6 separate regions of the Homo sapiens genome follow, and regions 1, 3, 4, 5 and 6 are each linked to region 2. Evidence: promoter capture Hi-C in 16 types of primary human blood cells and fetal thymus (Javierre and others, 2016). All regions are on one chromosome and are shown on one strand. The core of a region is centred on a gene start or on the middle of the fragment in contact, and the rest is flanking DNA. Distances in the headings are between cores, read along the strand shown.

Region 1 (2,877 bases), core at 337-2,836, 250 kb before region 2:
CTCTCTTCTCTCTTCTCTCTTCTTTCTCTCTCTCCCTCCACCCCTGCTTTCCAACTAGGGGAGAGAGAGAAAGAGGAAACTGCTTGGGAGAAGCAAATTACGGGCAGCCTTGCCCACTGGTAATGAGAAGAGGGCGACAGGGAGGGGAGAAGAGGGCAAAGGGGAGAGCTGAGGGCAGGTGGGGAGAGGAATTGTTCACCATTCTCTGCCATAAAGTGACTGATGTGCTGTACCAAGGCTGCCTTACAGCTTTTCCTTAAGATCAAGAAGTTCCTATGGCCTCCTCCCCAACCCCATCCTCCTTCTTGCCCGAGAAGCAACTGCTTTTATGAATTTGTGGTATCTCCTGTCCCTGTTTTAAACCTCGAGAACCAACAGTGTTATCCAAAACAACATGGTATTGATTTTGTGGTGGTTTTTAGAGTTTATGTAAGTGGCATCAAACTATACATGGCATTCTGTAACTTGCTTCTTCTACCATGTGATCGTTGGCTTTTCTAGATGCATCCATGTTCAAATGTGTAGCTTTAGTTCATTTGTTTTTAACTGCATGAATATATCATAGCTTATTCACTTAAAAGAAACTGAAGACAGTGTTCATGAGTAGGAAAAGGAGAATCAGACAGCCGTGGGATCAATCCTCACGCCCACCTTTAATTGCCGTGTCTGGCGAAGGCCTGTCCCCTTTCTGAATCATCCATGCAGATAACCCCGCACGTCACAAGTGAGTTGTGTGGTTGAAATAAGGCAGTGTCGGAGAAAGCACCTAAAGCAATGTCTATCACATAGCAAGTTCATTACTGGTAGTTCCCTTTCTTTTTCCCCACTGATTAGCAGGGAGAGGTGGTGGTAAAAAGCTAGATTTAGTGTAACGGCTTTTTAAAAAAATATTTTAATTCCCTTTTTAAGAGACAGGGCCTCACTCTGTCACCAGGCTGGAGTGCAGTGGTACAATTATATCTCAAGGCAGACTTGAACTCCCGGGCTCAAGCAATCCTCCTGTCTCAGGCTTCCAAGTAGTTAGGACTACAGGCACATGCCACCATGCCCGGCTGGCTTTTTTTATTTTTGGTAGAGATGGAGCCTCGCTATGCTGCCCAGGCTGGTCTCAAACTCTTGGCCTTAAGTGATCCTCTTGCCTCAGCCTCCCCAGTAGCTGGGATTACAGGAATGAGCCACTGCACCTAGCTGAAATTTTTAAGAAGGTGGATCTCCTCTGCAGACTTATTTCTCTACCCAGCCTTTACAATCATGCAAAGATCAACTCAAGGCCAGGACAGATGAGTTCCAATCTATGGAGCACTGACCCTACCAGTGCAGGCAGTAGGGTTGCCCTTCACTTCTCAGCTGCATTGCTTCCTCTTCAGACCTCTCTTCTCAAAGGACCTGCCCCCAGCCAGTCATCCTCTGCCCAGCTTTTCTGGTCCCAAGCTTGTAGCCAGCTCCTCCAGAGAGGTTTCACCCAGTCACGGAAACTCTGTGGCCTGAGGTTTAGGGAGGTCTGGTAGAGGTAACTCCCTGGAAGAGGCTGCTGCTGAGAACTGCCTGAAACTCCCACTTCCTCTGTGACTGCAGGTTTCCAACCACAAGCACCAAAGCAGAGGGGCAGGCAGCACACCACCCAGCAGCCAGAGCACCAGCCCAGCCATGGTCCTTGAGGTAAGTGCTGCTGCCCAGCCAGGCCAGGCCAGAATTCGAAGTGGAAAACCCGGGGCATCAGGGGAATGCCAGGGCTGGCCCACAGCCCAGGGTCACCACAGGGTTGGGTGAGTAGCTGGAGGCCGCATGGGTTGTGGCAGAAACAGCACTGGGGAATTGGGAACCCAGCTTGGCCACTGACCCTGGGTGCCTCTCCTCTCCTCTCTGGCTTCGGTGTCTCGTCTGCAAAATGGGGGGGGCGGGGGGCAAGTAGACTCGAAGGCTCCCTTCAGGAGACTTGGAACTTTGACTCTTGGCGTGCTGGACTAAATTGGTACTGGGGAGACCTGCAGGTCCATAGTGCTGGGGGTGAGGGGATAAAGAAGATTCCTTCTCAAGCTAAGTGGGGGATCCCCTTGTGGGCAGCTAAATGGCCGTGCAAGCCTCAGTGTAGGGAGGGGGAAGGACTGGGCAGACTGCATGCATTTGGGGGGCGTGGTGACTTGTAGAGAGGCCACACGGTGGGGGGGGGCGCAGGAAGTTGGGGTCCCCGGACAAGGGCCAAGGAGGGAAGAGGAGGGTTAGTGACTGGAAAAGGGGATTGTGGAGAGGCGCTGGGGAGGAAGGTGGTTGAACTATGTGTTGGGGGTGGGGCACTGAGGACGCAAGGCAAGCCTGAAGGGAGAGCAGGGAGAGAGAGGACAGTGGGCAGAGAGGGCTCTGGGCACTGGAGGGACGCTCTTCTTCCTGCCCAGGGGTCCCTGGGCCGATGGGATCACGCAGAAGAATGCGAGAGAAGCAGCCTTTGAGAAGGGAAGTCACTATCCCAGAGCCCAGGCTGAGCGGATGGAGTTGAGGAAGTACGGCCCTGGAAGACTGGCGGGGACAGTTATAGGAGGAGCTGCTCAGAGTAAATCACAGACTAAATCAGACTCAATCACAAAAGAGTTCCTGCCAGGCCTTTACACAGCCCCTTCCTCCCCGTTCCCGCCCTCACAGGTGAGTGACCACCAAGTGCTAAATGACGCCGAGGTTGCCGCCCTCCTGGAGAACTTCAGCTCTTCCTATGACTATGGAGAAAACGAGAGTGACTCGTGCTGTACCTCCCCGCCCTGCCCACAGGACTTCAGCCTGAACTTCGACCGGGCCTTCCTGCCAGCCCTCTACAGCCTCCTCTTTCTGCTGGGGCTGCTGGGCAACGGCGCGGTGGCAGCCGTGCTGCTGAGCCGGCGGACAGCC
Region 2 (2,877 bases), core at 186-2,685:
GGCTGAGACAGGAGAAATGCTTGAACCCGGGTGGCGGAGGCTGCAGTCAGCCCAGATCGCCCCACTGCACTCCAACCTCGGAGACAGAGCGAAACTCCGTCTTACACACACAAAAAAGTACATACATAGTAGGTGGCTAGCCTCCTCCCCCGCCTACTCCCCACAACCCAGACTTCACCTTCATCATTTACCAAGGCACCGTCAGTCCCGGTCAATTCTTCATTTGCCGTGAGTTCAGTGATCAGGCTGCCCAGCCCCAAAGCCCCCAAGCCTGCCAAGTGCTTCTTACATTCCTGAAAAAGGGACAGCACGAGTCGAAGATAACAACTAAACCTACGACTCCCACACCACAGGACTTATTTCCCTGGTCCACGACAAAGTCACAAATCCACATGAAAAATGACTGTGCAGTGTGCCAAAACAAGCAACACGTTCGAGAACTGTAATATACATCTACCAAACTCCGCATCGATCAGATCTTTATTAAAGCACCACAGCCAACTGCATCGCCCACACTTTAAAGTATACTACAAGAGAAGACGAATCAAATAACTACTGCCAAGACTGAATGAATGGAACGGTCGTTCTCGGAACGAGGGCCGAGGCAGGGGGATCAGTGGGATTGGAGGCGTCGAGGCGGGGCTCGTTCGGTCCCTGTTTCGCATGCGCCTGCGGCACAGGAGGGGCCACAGCGGCCGACAGCTTCACTCCTCAAGAAAACGGGCCTAAGTGAAGGCAGGGTAGTTTCACTAGGGCGCAGGACACTATTTCACGAAAGTCAGTGAAGACGCTGGGAGAGCCACCTAAAAGGCGCACTGTGACCAGGAGGCCCGCTCGGGTGCTAGGAACACCCCATTGTCCTAAGCCTGAGGCCGGAACCAAACGAGCGGGAGGCAGGTCCTGTCCAGTCCTCTGGCTCTATAGAGCCATCTCAGGGCAGCGATGTCAGAGGGGCAGGCAGTGTCAAGAATCTCCAAGCAGGTTACGGGTGGGAAGCCATCTCAGTAGGCGAAACCAGCATGTGTCCTACTGTCTGGTCGGCAGAGCGCTAGCTCCAAAGCCACTATTCCCTGCGCCCCTGGCCCCGGGCTCGCCTCGCGCTCTCTTCTGCCCACTCTCCCCCAGAACGATCACTCCCACGCCACGTTGCTCCCGCACCCATGAGGACGGGATCCTCCTCCCCGGCGTTAGCTGCGCCCTGTTCTCGCTGCCTGAGCACCCTCTCCTTTCCTCCCCGCACCTCCTTCCTCTGCTTAGCCCCACCCCCCGAGCCCTACCCCCACGCCCACCCCCTCACATCATCCAAGACGCTTTCCCCCTCCAGCTGCCCGGCTCCATTGATGTTGCCGAAAAGGAAACCCGCTAAAGAAAATGGGCCGCCTCCAGCGGAATCTTCGTCGCTGTCCGTGTCTGACATGATGGCGGCAGCAGTGATGGTAGCTGCTGTCCGCAGCAGCAAATCGCAGCCGGGTCCCATAGACCGGAAATAAAACAACAGTCGCCCAGAAGTGACTTACTGAGCTCCCTTACCCTACCAGCCTCTACCGGAAGCTCAAAACAGAGGGGAAAGGGAGGGGGAAGTGGGGAGAGGGGAGGGGGAAGGGGGGGAAAACCCGGAAAGACCGGCTATCCTAAGAGAAAGAAGTAACTACTTTACTAACGGCTTTTGATTCGACGCTACGGGATCAGGAGGATGGATATGTGGAAAGCGGTTGGTCAAAGAAAATATTCAGTCCCGCCCGCTCCCACTGCTCCGCGCGCGAGCTTTCTCACGGCACCGAATTAGAGCAGTGGCTCTTCCTCCAATCAGAAGGAGCTGCTCGAGTCACGTGGCTTACGCGCAGGCAACCTCGGGTTCCTGTACCACAATACCCGGAAGTAAGGGTAAGAGCCGGTCTTTGTGCTGCGTGCAATTTCACCGGTCCGTCCCAAGGAGAGACTTGACGTAAATTATACAGGCATTCCCGAGCTATGCAGGTTACTTGTTTTGAGTTGACATTTTTCCCTAGAAATTGATTTTTTGACCGGACGCGGTGGCTTACGCCTGTAATTCCAGCACTTTGAGAGGCCGAGGTGGGAGGATCGCTTGAGCCCACGAGTATGAGGCCAGCCTGGACAAGAAAGCGAGACTCCATCCATACACAAAATCAAAAAAATTAGCCAGATGTGGTGGCCAGTGCCTGTAGTCCCAGCTGTTGGGGGGTCTGAGGTGGGAGCCAGGAGTTGGAGTCTGCAGTGACCTGTGATCGGGCCACTGCACTCCAGCCCGCCTCAAAAAAAATACTTGTTCCCCCAACGTTTTATTTCGGAAAATGTGAAAGTTTAGTAAAATGAACAGCTGACCCCTCACCTAGACTCACAATGGTTAACATTTTGCTAGGATTTTTGTTTTTCTAAACCATTTATGGGCATCTTGTTCTTCACTCCTAAAAATAAGCATCTTAACTATGGAACCAAAGTACCTTTATCACAACTTTAGGAAGTAAGTCAATATTATTTAAGGAAGAGTCCGCACTTAAATTTCCCCAGTTGTCCTAGTTGGAACATTTTACGGGGTTTCGTCATGTTGCACAGGCTGGTCTCAGACTCCTGGGCTCAAGCAATCTGCCCGTTTCAGCCTCCCAAAGTGCTGGGATTGCAGCCATGAGCCAACACCCCGGCTTTCACCTTGCTTTTTTCACATATTATGATAATATAGACTGAAATAATTTCTTTACCACATCATAGCACTCTTCCTCATTCTCCCTTTTTTCCAATACTAGGATCCATTCACGTTTCATGCATTGTATTTGGTCATCTTCCTTTAGTCCAGAATCACCTGCCTTCTTGTTTGTTTTTCATGACACTAAATATTTGGAAGAATCCAGGCAAGTTGTC
Region 3 (2,700 bases), core at 148-2,647, 210 kb before region 2:
TCACCTCAGTCTTCCACCAATCAGGCCTCAACCCCACCACCCTTCCCCCACACTCGCACCTCCAACCACCTCCAGCCACCTTCAACTGCTCCCAACCGGTTTTCCAAGCAGGCTTCCACTCCCCCACACTTCTATCCAACTTCTGCCCTACCCCACTCCTGTCTCCCACCACCACTCAGTCCTCAGCCAAAGAGACCTCAACCCCCACACACACACCCCTACCCACAACCACTAGCTCCCACCTCCCCCCAATGCTGCAACGGGCACCCCCACTTCTCCCCACAGCCACTGGCACCCCCACCTCCAATGCCACCACCAGCATCCTCACTTCTCCCCACGCCCACCAGCACCACCACGTGCTCCTAGGCCACTTCCACCACCACCAAGTGTTCCTACGCCGCCACCAGAACCCCCCACTTCCCTCAACGCCCCCATTGGCACCCCCACCTTCAATGCGGCCACCGGCGCCTCCACTTCTCCCCACACCGCCAGCGCTACTATGTGCTCCTATGCCACCAACGCCACCAAGTACTCCTAGGCCGCAACTGGCACCCCCACCTCCCCCCACGCTGCCACTGGCATCCCTACTTCTCCCCACCCGCCACTAGGGACACCACCTGTTCCTACACCACCACTGGGGCCCCCACCTCCCCCCAGTGCCGCAACCAGCGCCCTCACTTCTCCCCGCGCCGCCACCGGCGCCACGTATTCCTACATAGCCACTGGCGCCACCACACGCTCCTACGCCACCACCAGCGCTCCCACTTCCCCCAAGGCCGCCAATGGTGCCCCTACTTCTCCCCACACCGTCACTGGTGCTACCACATGCTCCTACACCACCACCAGCACCCCCACTTCCCCGACACTGCCACAGGCACCCCCACTTCCCCCAACGCCGCCACTGGTGCCCCTACTTCTCTCCACCCGCCACTGGCACCAACACCTCCTTCTACGCCACCACCAGGCCCCCCACTATCTGCAATGACGCCACCAGCGCCCCTTCTCCCCACGCCGCCACTGGCACTACCAGCTGCTCCTACGCCGCCACCGGCGCCCCCACCCCTCCCAATGCCGCCACTGGCGCCACCATATGTTTCCTACACCACCATGGGCGCCCCCACCTCCCCCAATGCTACCACTGGCGCCTCCACTTCTCCCCTCGCTGCCACTTCCTCTACTCCCACCTCAGGCCTACACGGGCAACCAGAGTCCAAGGTATACAGTGGTCCTGATTTTAATTAAGTCACTCAATTAGGATTAACCTCTGGACCACTTCAGCACCCATCTCAGTCCGACCAGCCGGTCACCTACCTGGTGTTGCAGCCTCTGGCGTGGCCGGCAGCAGCTCACCTCCAACTGCCCGTGGAGTGTGTGCAAAGATCCGGAGCAACTGCGATGAACAACGCCAGGCGCAGGCCCCTTTATAGTGCCCGGACCTAGGGGGCGGTAGCAGTAATTCACGTGTGCTCGCCCGCGCTCCCCTGTACCCACCTATCACAGTGGTCACAAGACAAATTTGAACTTCGCGCCTGTGAACTTGGCGCCTAGCTGTAACGCTTCCGGGATCAGGTCTGTCGCTTTCCACTCCCACGGATGTTGCTTATTTGTCCCAAAACCGCCATTTCAATACTAGAGCGTGGGCACCCGAGGCCAATTCTGCGATTAAAAGTCCCTAACAACTTTCTGATAAAGAGAAACCATGTGAAATCGTTCATAACAAACTTTTATCCTGCGAGAACTTGGATAAGCGAGCCTTGTTCCTTACTTGAATTGTCCAGACCTCTAAGTCCGTTATTGCAACCACTGGGAAAGGGCGCGGGGGGAGGGGCGGGGGCACGAGAACTGGAGCGAAGGCGCGGGAGCAGGGGCGTGGACGGGAACACCGAGGGGAGGGCGGGGCGCGGGGGGACGCGGGAGCGCAGGGGGGCGGGGGTTGCAGGGAAGGCCATCTAGACCCCTAGATAAGAGCAAGGCAGCAACTCAACAGCGCCTGGCAACGGCGAACTATGATGTTTACTTCCAGAACCCTCCAAACCCTGGAGATAAAAAAAGGTTACTTGAGGCTTTTTGGCACTCACTCCATACACACCAAGAAAAACAAACGGGGAAAACAGCGCTTTCTAGATTGTGCCAGTTTCTCCAGCGAGCATCTATATATTTCGTAATGTATGCCTTTGGGTAACAGAACACACATAAAATGTCCCTGCGTTTGATACTATTTTGTGCTAAGCATTATTCCAAGTGTCTTACGACTTAATTCATACAACACTTTAAAAAGTAGGCAACTGTTAGCACTCTCATTTTAGAGATCACACAGCTAGAAAGTGGCAGAGCTGGCCGGGCACAGTGGCTCACGCCTGTAACCCCAGCACTTTGGGAGGCTGAGGCGGGTGGATCACGAAGTCAGGAGCTTGAGACCAGCCTGGTCAACATGGTGAAACCCCGTCTCTACTAAAGATAAAAAAAAAAAAATAGCCGCGTGTGGTGGCCCGCGCCTGTAATCCCAGCTACTCGGGAGGCTGAGGCAGGAGAATCGCTGGAACCTGGGAGGCGGAGGTTGCAGTGAGCCGAGATCGTGCCATTGCACTCCAGCATGGGGACAGGGCGAGACTCCATCTCAAAAAAAAAAAAAAAAGTGGCAGAGCTGAGATTCAAACTCCAACTCTAGTTCCAAAACCTGCTCTTAAGCACCAGATTGCC
Region 4 (2,700 bases), core at 168-2,667, 230 kb after region 2:
TCTGACCAGTCCCACCACTTTCAGGCACAGGCTTTCCCAAGTCAAATGCTCCCTTATACCTCTGCATCTCTTCCTAGCTCACCACTACTTTGGGTACCTTTGAGTGGAGGTCAGTCCATGTCCATAGGTGGGGGCCTGCTGGTGCACATAGCCACTGGGCCGCTGTTGCAGGTGGCGGGTAGGATCTACAAGAGTAGGATTGGTAGAAGGGTGGGTGCTCTGGTAAGGCTGGCTGGAGTAGCTGGGGGGCACCATGGTACCTGCAGGGCCTGTGTGTTGCTGCAATCCCACATGAGAAACATAAGGAGTATAGCCCTGGAGGGAAGAAGGAGAGAGGGAATCAGGGCCGAGAGTATGCAGAGCAGCTTGCCTCATCCCCCTAGTCTCACAATCCCAGGCTCTTACCTGGGAAGTCTGCAAACCGTAGGAAGAGCTGGGAGTCATCTGATGGACAGATGACTGTCCCAACATGCCCTGACTCTGCTAAAGGGAGAAAAGAGAACAACTCAAACTCAGGAAATGCTTGCTGCCATCTCATCTCTTGTGTCTCCCACCCTGAGTGTCCTTGTGAAGATCCCAAGTGTCTCCTCCGTCCTGTGACCCTCAAAAGCCCCTCTCCCTGACAGCCCTCCCTACTGCCCCTCTCACTATCTTTGCCTGGAGCTGTTGGCGAAGGCGCTGTCCTTGGGGCACCGCAGGTTGCTGCTGCCGGTACACAGAGGTCTTATAAGAGGAGGGTTCTAAACCCATGACGCCAGTCATGGTTGTGGGCAGCACTCCAGGGTAAGTTGGTCGGGTGGGCAGCTTCTGCATTGGTAAGCGCACAGGACGGTATGGGTCCACACGAGGGCCACCTGAAAAGGAGAGTGGGCTGACCTCTAGGCTCCTCATCCCTCTGTCTCTTGCTCAGTGTCCTTGACATCCATAGCTCCTCAGGGGAATGGCATCATCCTTTGGGCAGGGGGAGTGTACAGGTAGGTCCCTCCAGCATTCCTAGTGGCTGGCACTCACCTGCAGGTAGTGGCTGGTTCTGGGTGTACAGGCCTATGGAGCCTTGCCTGTAGTTAAGGTGTGTTATAGAACCAGGGTTTGGGTGGTGCAGGAGGTCCGGAGGCACTGTCACACCATAAGGGCCGCTCCGACCCGGGCCCATTCCATAGTCCTGTGTGAGTGGCAGAGGAAGAGGGTGAGTGGGTTGTAGCTGAATGGGGTCGGGGAGCTGGGGGAGAATGAGGTAAAGAGGAGCTGAATTCGTATATGGTTAATTTTTATTATGATTCTAATGGCACCCCTTCCTTATGCGCCCCCACCCCTCCCACAAACCAGAAACCGGAGCGTCATGAAGTGAGAGGCTGTGGGAGAACTGTCACGGGGGAGGCGCTCACCTCTGTCTTGGTAGCTGGCTGGCTGCGTTTCTTGCCCTTGGTGGACTTCTTCTTGCGTTCCTCAGTACTGGGTGGAGCAGCCCCCGGTTTGTCAGTTTTGGGGGGCTCTGGAGCCTTTTTCTCAGGCTCTAGCAGGGTAGGAGCAGGCGGCTCCTCATCTTCTGGGGGCAGTGGCAGTGGCTCCAGGTAATAGGCGCGGGGCCGGGGCCTCAGGTGTGTGTGGTAGAGCAGCAACCGCTGCTGCTCCTCTCCTCGAGCCACTCGCCGGTCCACTCGGACTGTTCCAAACCAGCCCCAAGAGAGTGGTGCTGACGGCTTCAACCCCTCAAAAAGATCCCAGGGCGAGATCTTCTGTTTGGTGGAAACCTGTAGACCCTGCTCCAGAAAATGAAAAACAATAAGCTGTTGGGACTTAGAAAACAGAAGACTGCAAGCATTTGTAGGAATGGGTAGAAAGAAAGTCATAGGCAGATTCAGGAGAGATGGTAAGAAGCAGACAGACAGACATGGATACACATATACATGCGGAAGAGAGTTATGCGGGGAGAGAGTGAAGGGTGGGGCACAGGGAGAGGTGTGGAGGCACAAGATGAAGCCAGCCCAGACCAGGAGAGGAGATGAACTAACGGGGCGGGGGGCGTGTGGGGAGAGAAGATCGGGAGAGAAAGGGGTTGGGGAGAAAGCCAGAGAGGGAGCGGGGAGGGAGAGGGATTGACATTCAGAGGAAGACAGAAAAAGGAAGGCAGAGAAAGAGAGAGAGGAAGGCAGGGAGAGACTCTGCCTTTAGGCAGGCCGAGAAAGAGTCAGAGAGAGAAAGAAACAGGAAGAGAGAGACAAAAAGGTGGAGAGACAAAGAAAGGCAAACGAGTCAGACAGGGAGAGAGACAGAGACGGAGGAAAAGAGACAGATGGACTAGGAAGACAGATGAAGAGAATGTATATATGAAGGAGTTAGACTTTGGGTTTTAAACTATACACAATAATTATGGTTACTCAACAAATACCGCAACTGACAGAGAGGGAAAAGATAAAAGTGTGCAGAGATGGGTGGGTGTAGGGAAACACAGAAATAAAAGAGATACAGGCTGTCGGCCAGATAGATGGGTGGGGTAGGACATGGGGCAGGTGGAGCAGAGGAAAGAGGAGGGTAGGGTATTGAAAAATGGGTGGTATGTTAAAAGGTGAGGGCAGGGTGAAGGAAAGAGGGTGGGACTTCAAAGATGGAGATGAAATGTAAGGAAAGTTAAGTGATTTGCTCAAAACCCCAGAGATGGTGTTCACCGGCAGAGACTGATGGGCTCCTGAATCTGATGAG
Region 5 (2,900 bases), core at 22-2,521, 210 kb after region 2:
AGACAGGGTTTAGTTGCCCAGGCTGGTCTTGAACTCCTGACCTCAGGTGATCCACCCACCTCATCCTTCCAAAGTGCTGGGATTACAGGCGTGAGCCACCACACCCGGCCCTGTAAAATTAAGTGTGTGTGTGCGCACATGCATGTGTGTGCACACACGCATGTGTGCATTGTTCCAGGGGAGAGTCCATAGCTTTCATCAGAATCTCAAAAGGGTCCAAGATGCCCCAAAAGGTTAAGAACTTCTGGTGTAGAAGCTTAAGGATTAGAGCAGCTGAAGGATTGTGAAGTAATCAGCAAATCAGGATATCATACGGAATGCTCACCAGCGACAGCCTTCTGTGCGGCCCACAGTTCCCAACTGACACTGTGGAGACTTCACATCCTACGTGAAATGCCGAGTCTCTCCCCAGATCCTAAGTCTCTCCTTCTGTCTCCTCTCTGCTTCCTCTCCCTGACTCTCTATTATCCTCTCATTTTCTTCTCTTCCTTGCTTTCTCCTCTTTCTCTCCCTCTTTTCCATGCTCTCTTTCTTCATTCCTAGCTGCTCTGAAGCATATTTTTAGTATTCTTTGTATTTTCCAATAAACCTTATAGAATGGAGCATTGTGTTTATATTTTTTTAAGCAGCTGAGCTGAGTGTTTTCTGTCACTCTAAGAAAAGAAAGTAGCAAAATTACTTTTGGCTTTGAACTACCGTGTACATGTGTCTGCATATCTGTTTGTGATCACATTTGCGCGTTCATTCCTCTCTAGAAACTGTGCAGCCCAGCCGGGCGCGGTGGCTCACGCCTGTAATCCCAGCACTTTGGGAGGCCAAGGCAAGTGGATCACTTGAGATCAGGAGTTCCAGACCAGCCTGGCCAACATAGTGAGACCTTGTCTCTACTAAAAATACAAAAATTAGCTGGGTGTGGTGGTGCACACCTGTAATCCATAATCCCAGCTGCTCGGGAGGCTGAGGTGGGAGGATCACTTGAGCCTGGGAGGTCGAGGCTGCGATGAGCCATGATTGCACCACTGCACTCCAGCCTGGGTGACAGAGTGAGACTCTGTCTCAAAAATTAATTAATTAATTAATTAATTAATTAAAAAAAGAAAGTGTGCAGCCCTAGTGTGTGGGTTTCCAGCCACCTTCATGGTACCATGAGATTCAACAGGACAGAACAGCTTACAAGAGCCTCACCATGGTGTCTGAGGTGATGCAGAAAGACAGAGGGGCAGGAGCAGAACCATGACATCCCAACATCCCAAGCCTACCAGACCGTGGGGAGGCCAGCGTGAATGGCCTGCATGCTCCATATTCAGTCTCCCGGGCGCCAATGAAGGGGACACCGACTTTGCTTTTTTAAAGGAGCATCATTTCTGCAGTTTGAACCCCAAAAGAGTATCTTCCTATCTCACATAGTATTAATTGTAAACCAAGAGAAGATTGCCGTTCTGGGCATACAACTGCACCCAGAAGTGAAATGCAGCCCCGGAGCCTCTGAGATTGGAACTGACAAAGCAATATAGTCAAGAGAAAATTAAGGGCCAGGCGTGGTGGCTCATGCCTGTAATCCCAGCACTTTGGGAGGCTGAGGCAGGCAGATCACCTAAGGTCAGGAGTTCGAGACCAGCCTGGCCAACATGGTGAAACCCTGTCTCTACTAAAAATACAAAAATTAGCCTGGCATGGTAGCAGGTGCCTGTAATCCCAGCTACTCAGGAGGCTGAGGCAGGAGAATCAGTTGAACCCGGGAGGCGGAGGTTGCAGTGAGCCAAGATGGTGCCATTGCACTCCAGCCTGGGCGACAGAGTGAGACTCTGCCTCAAAAACAAAATAAAAATAATAAATAAATAAATAAATAAATAAATAAATAAATAAGCAAATTAAAATAAGGCCCTTGAGGTGGGAGGATGATCACTTGAGCTCAGGAGTTCAAAACTGGCCTGGGCAAGAGTGAGACCCTGTCTCAAAAATTAAATGAAAATAAAATCAAATATGGTCGTGTCCCCTAGTTAGCCATGGAATAAGCCACGCCTAACTGCTGGTTTAGCACCCATATGCCTACAGACCTGACCAAGAGCCTACACTCCCGCTGAAACTCTTCCTCCAGGAAGAAGTTGGCTTCTTCATGCCACTACAGGGATGCGGGGCTTGGGGGAGCATGAGCAGGGCCCTGTGTGCTTAGTCACCCTCTCTGAGGCACTCGTTTACCTCAAGACCTTGGCCATAGATAGGCATGGGTGGTCACCAAGGAAGGTACAGGGTTCAAGGGCAGCCTAAATGACTGACACAAGCTTGTGCACAGCAGAGAATGCGGGGGTGGGGAGGTGTATGGGTGCATATGAGGAGGCATTTCGGCAATGAGTGCATATGCATGGGAGTATGTGTGTGATGGGTGGGAGTGTGCAGGGGACATGCTTAGAGTACAAAGAGTGTGTACGTGTGCATATACGGGGTAAGGAAGTGTGGGGAGACTTGGGGGATGCGGTTGGGCCTGGGTAGAGGTGTGTGTGCATGTATGGATACAGATGCAGCCCCATGTACACGGATGTGTATATATTTGTGGGGTGGGGTGAGGGGAGAAGTGCATGGGTGTGTGCTGGGTGTACATATACAGGCTGTATATGGAAGAGTGTGCGCATGTATACGCGTGCATGCATATGTGGATGTGTGTGTGGGGGAATGTATGTGTAGGGGAATGACATAAGGGCAGTGTGTGGGATGTATATAGATGTGGATATGGTGTGTGTGTAGTATCTGTGTATGTGTGGGGTGGGACAGTGTGGACAAACAGGTAAGAGTATATGTGTGTAGGGAAGGGGAATATTTGTTTGTGTTTCTGAGGAGATAGTGAGGGACAGGTGTGTGTGGTAGGTGGATGTGTAAAGTGGATGTGGAAGTAGGGTGTGCAG
Region 6 (2,700 bases), core at 99-2,598, 180 kb before region 2:
ATAAATGCTTTAACTTTTTTTTTATTTTTTGAGATGGAGTCTTGCTCTGTCGCCCAGGCTGGAATGCAATGGTGCAATCTCAGCTCACTGCAACCTCCACCTCCCAGGTTCAAGAGATTCTCCTGCCTCCGCCTCCTGAGTAGCTGGGATTACAGGCTCCTGCTACCATGCCTGGCTAATTTTTGTATTTTTAGTAGAGATGGGGTTTTGCCATGTTGGCCAGGCTGGTCTCGAACTCCTGACCTCAGGTGATCCACCTGCCATGGCCTCCCGAAGTGCTGGGATTACAGGCGTGAGCCACCAAGCCCGGCCTAATAAATGCTTTCACTATTAATGGTGATATTCTATCATTCCTTCTTCACTTATTAGCTAGAATGCTTTTATAAAGAAAAGCTTCCCCCATCAACTATTGGGTTACTCTATGGTCTAGTTCATACAGGAGAGGGAAGACATATGCTTTATTCTTTTAATTTTTAAATTTAAAGTTGATATATAATTGTGTATATTTATGGCATACAATGTGATGGTTTGATCCACGTATACATTTTAGAAAGAGTCAACCAAGCTAATTAACATAGCCATCACCTCACTAACTTATTTTTTTGTGGTTGAGGACATTAAAAACCTATTCTTTTTGCAATTTTGAAATATACATTATTAACAACTGTGGTCACCATGCAGTACTACAGATCACTAAAACTTATTCCTCCAGTCTAACTGAAACTTTGATCAATATCTCCCTTTTCCCCATCCCTCCTCCACCCCCCCAAGCCTCACCACCCTTCTACTCTCTGTTTCTATGAAATCAACTTTTTTAGATTCCACAAATAGGTGACATAATACAGTATCTACTTTCTGTGCCTGGTTTATTTCACTTAGCATAAAGCACAGATAACAAAAGCAAAAATATGCAATGAGATTGCATCAAACTAAAAAGCTTCTGCACAGTAAAGGAAACAATTACACAGAGTGAATAGGCAACCCCGGATTAGGAGAAAGCATTTGCAAACTATACAACTGATAAAGGGTTAAGAAGCTCAACTCAGTAGCAAATACGCCCATTAAAATACGGGCAAAGGATCTAAACAGACATTTCTCAAAAGAAGAGGTACAGGCCAGACACAGTGGCTCATGTCTGTAATCCTATCACTTGGGGAGACCAAGGTGGGAGGATCACTTGAGCCCAGGAGTTCGAGGTTGCAGTGAGCTATTATGGCGCCACTGCACTCCAGCCTGGGCAACAGAGCAGGACCTCATCTCAAAAAAACAAAACAAAACAAAACAAAAAAAACAAATGGCAAGCAGATATATAAAAAATATGCTCAACATCACTAATCATCAAGGAAATGCAAAATAAAACCATGAGTTAGCATCTCACACTTGTTAGTATAGCTATCATCAAAAGGACGAATAATAACAAGTGTTAGTGAGGATGTAAAGAAAGGGAAGCCTTGTAACTGATGGGGGAAGTATAAATTGGCACAGCCATTTTGGGAACTAGTATAGAGGTTCCTCAAAAACTTTATTCTTCTCTTTTTAACCAGTTTTCCAAATTAATTGTTCCTTGTAAGTCTTCCAAAGATGACCAATGAATTTTTTAGCATAATTATAAGCTCATAGATTTAAACATACTTGATAAGTTTTAGTATATTTCAGTTATTATTCCTATTGATGCTCAAGTCTGCATCTTTAGCCAGTGGGAGCCTCCTCAAGTTGCTTCCTGAGTCCTTTTGATGCAAAGTAATATGTCAAAGCTTCCTTGCTTTCTGGTATGACAAGACATTCCAAAAATTTTTTTTAAATTCCTGCCCCAGACCTGGAATCTGCCTTTTCACCAAGAAGCCCTGCTTCTTTAAAGCCCATTTATAAAAATCATTTTTAATTACTAAAGTACATTTTTTTTGAGACAGGGTCTCACACCATCACCCAGGCTGGAGTGCAGTTGCATGATCACAGCTCACTGCAGACTCAAACTCCCATCTCAGCCTCCCCAGTAGCTGTGTGTGTGTCACCACGCATAGCTACTTTTTGTATTTTTTGTAGAGACAGGGTCTTACTATGTTGCCCAGGCTGGTCTCAAACTACTAGGCTCAAGCAATCCTCCCACCTCAGCCTCGCAAAGTGCTGGATTACAGGTGTGAGCCACAGCACGCAGCCTAAAGTACATTTTCAACACAAAATTGGAAACTGCCATACCATGTACTATCCAGCAAATGCTGCAATAAAGATGTTTCTCAACTTAGGATGGGGTTATGTCCCGATACACCCATCATAAGTTGAAAATATCTTAAGTCAAAATGCATCTGTAACACTTAGTGAACATCCTAGCTTAGCCTAATTTTTTTTTTTTTTTTTTTTTTTTTTTTGAGACAGGGCCTCACTTTGTCACCCAGGCTGGAGTGCAGTGGTGCAATCTTGGTTCACTGCAACCTCCAGCTCCCAGGCCCAAGCAATCCTCCCACCTCAGCCCTACAAATGGCTGGGACTACAGGAGCACACTGCCACACCCAGCTCATTTTTGTAGAGACAGGGTCTCGTTATGTTGTCCAGGCTGGTTTTCAACTCCTAAGCTCAAGCAATCTGCCCGCCTCGGCCTCCCAAAGCACTGGGATCACAGATGTGAGCTATCACACCTGGCCCGGCTAGTCTCATTTTAAACATGCTCAGAACACATTAGCCTACGTTTAGGTAAAATTACCT

What was found. Contacts are between HindIII fragments. The CHiCAGO score rates a contact against its expected background, and 5 or more counts as called.
Region 1: the fragment with the promoter of CXCR3 here is called in contact with the fragment with the promoter of TAF1 in region 2 in 3 of 17 cell types (total CD8 T cells, activated CD4 T cells and M0 macrophages); the score reaches 5.6 in total CD8 T cells.
Region 3: a contact is called between the fragment with the promoter of GCNA here and the fragment with the promoter of TAF1 in region 2, in 15 of 17 cell types (activated CD4 T cells, naive CD8 T cells, M2 macrophages and 12 more). The highest score is 14.7, in activated CD4 T cells.
Region 4: a contact is called between a fragment that was not itself captured here and the fragment with the promoter of TAF1 in region 2, in 4 of 17 cell types (non-activated CD4 T cells, neutrophils, total B cells and 1 more). The highest score is 6.9, in non-activated CD4 T cells.
Region 5: a contact is called between a fragment that was not itself captured here and the fragment with the promoter of TAF1 in region 2, in 1 of 17 cell types (total B cells). The highest score is 5.0, in total B cells.
Region 6: a contact is called between a fragment that was not itself captured here and the fragment with the promoter of TAF1 in region 2, in 15 of 17 cell types (total B cells, naive B cells, total CD8 T cells and 12 more). The highest score is 12.2, in total B cells.

What each region holds. Positions count from the first base shown.
Region 1 is chrX:71,617,220-71,620,096 of GRCh38, reverse strand. It overlaps CXCR3 (C-X-C motif chemokine receptor 3), which reads left to right and starts at 1,586. Exons shown (of 2, transcript NM_001504.2): 1 at 1,586-1,659; 2 at 2,638-2,877. The coding sequence starts at 1,648. The HindIII fragment of the contact is 3,713 bases long and covers 1,434-2,877 here.
Region 2 is chrX:71,364,915-71,367,791 of GRCh38, reverse strand. TAF1 (TATA-box binding protein associated factor 1) reads right to left here and starts at 1,435. Exons shown (of 38, transcript NM_004606.5): 1 at 1,298-1,435; 2 at 179-293. The coding sequence starts at 1,417. RefSeq lists enhancers at 130-825, 1,344-1,393, 1,884-1,933, 2,102-2,671 and a silencer at 1,554-1,743. The HindIII fragment of the contact is 14,477 bases long and covers 1-2,877 here.
Region 3 is chrX:71,577,134-71,579,833 of GRCh38, reverse strand. It overlaps GCNA (germ cell nuclear acidic peptidase), which reads right to left and starts at 1,397. Exons shown (of 13, transcript NM_052957.5): 1 at 1,312-1,397. RefSeq lists an enhancer at 549-1,190. The HindIII fragment of the contact is 6,206 bases long and covers 1-2,700 here.
Region 4 is chrX:71,135,341-71,138,040 of GRCh38, reverse strand. MED12 (mediator complex subunit 12) reads right to left here. Exons shown (of 45, transcript NM_005120.3): 37 at 1,386-1,760; 38 at 1,012-1,162; 39 at 658-854; 40 at 406-483; 41 at 98-315. Among named protein-coding and RNA genes, the nearest start is that of NLGN3, 8.2 kb to the left of the region's middle. The HindIII fragment of the contact is 4,663 bases long and covers 1-2,700 here.
Region 5 is chrX:71,156,254-71,159,153 of GRCh38, reverse strand. All of the region lies in intron 5 of NLGN3 (neuroligin 3), which reads right to left. Among named protein-coding and RNA genes, the nearest start is that of NLGN3, 13 kb to the right of the region's middle. The HindIII fragment of the contact is 2,026 bases long and covers 259-2,284 here.
Region 6 is chrX:71,548,962-71,551,661 of GRCh38, reverse strand. The region is part of intron 5 of OGT (O-linked N-acetylglucosamine (GlcNAc) transferase); the gene reads right to left. Among named protein-coding and RNA genes, the nearest start is that of OGT, 17 kb to the right of the region's middle. The HindIII fragment of the contact is 817 bases long and covers 940-1,756 here.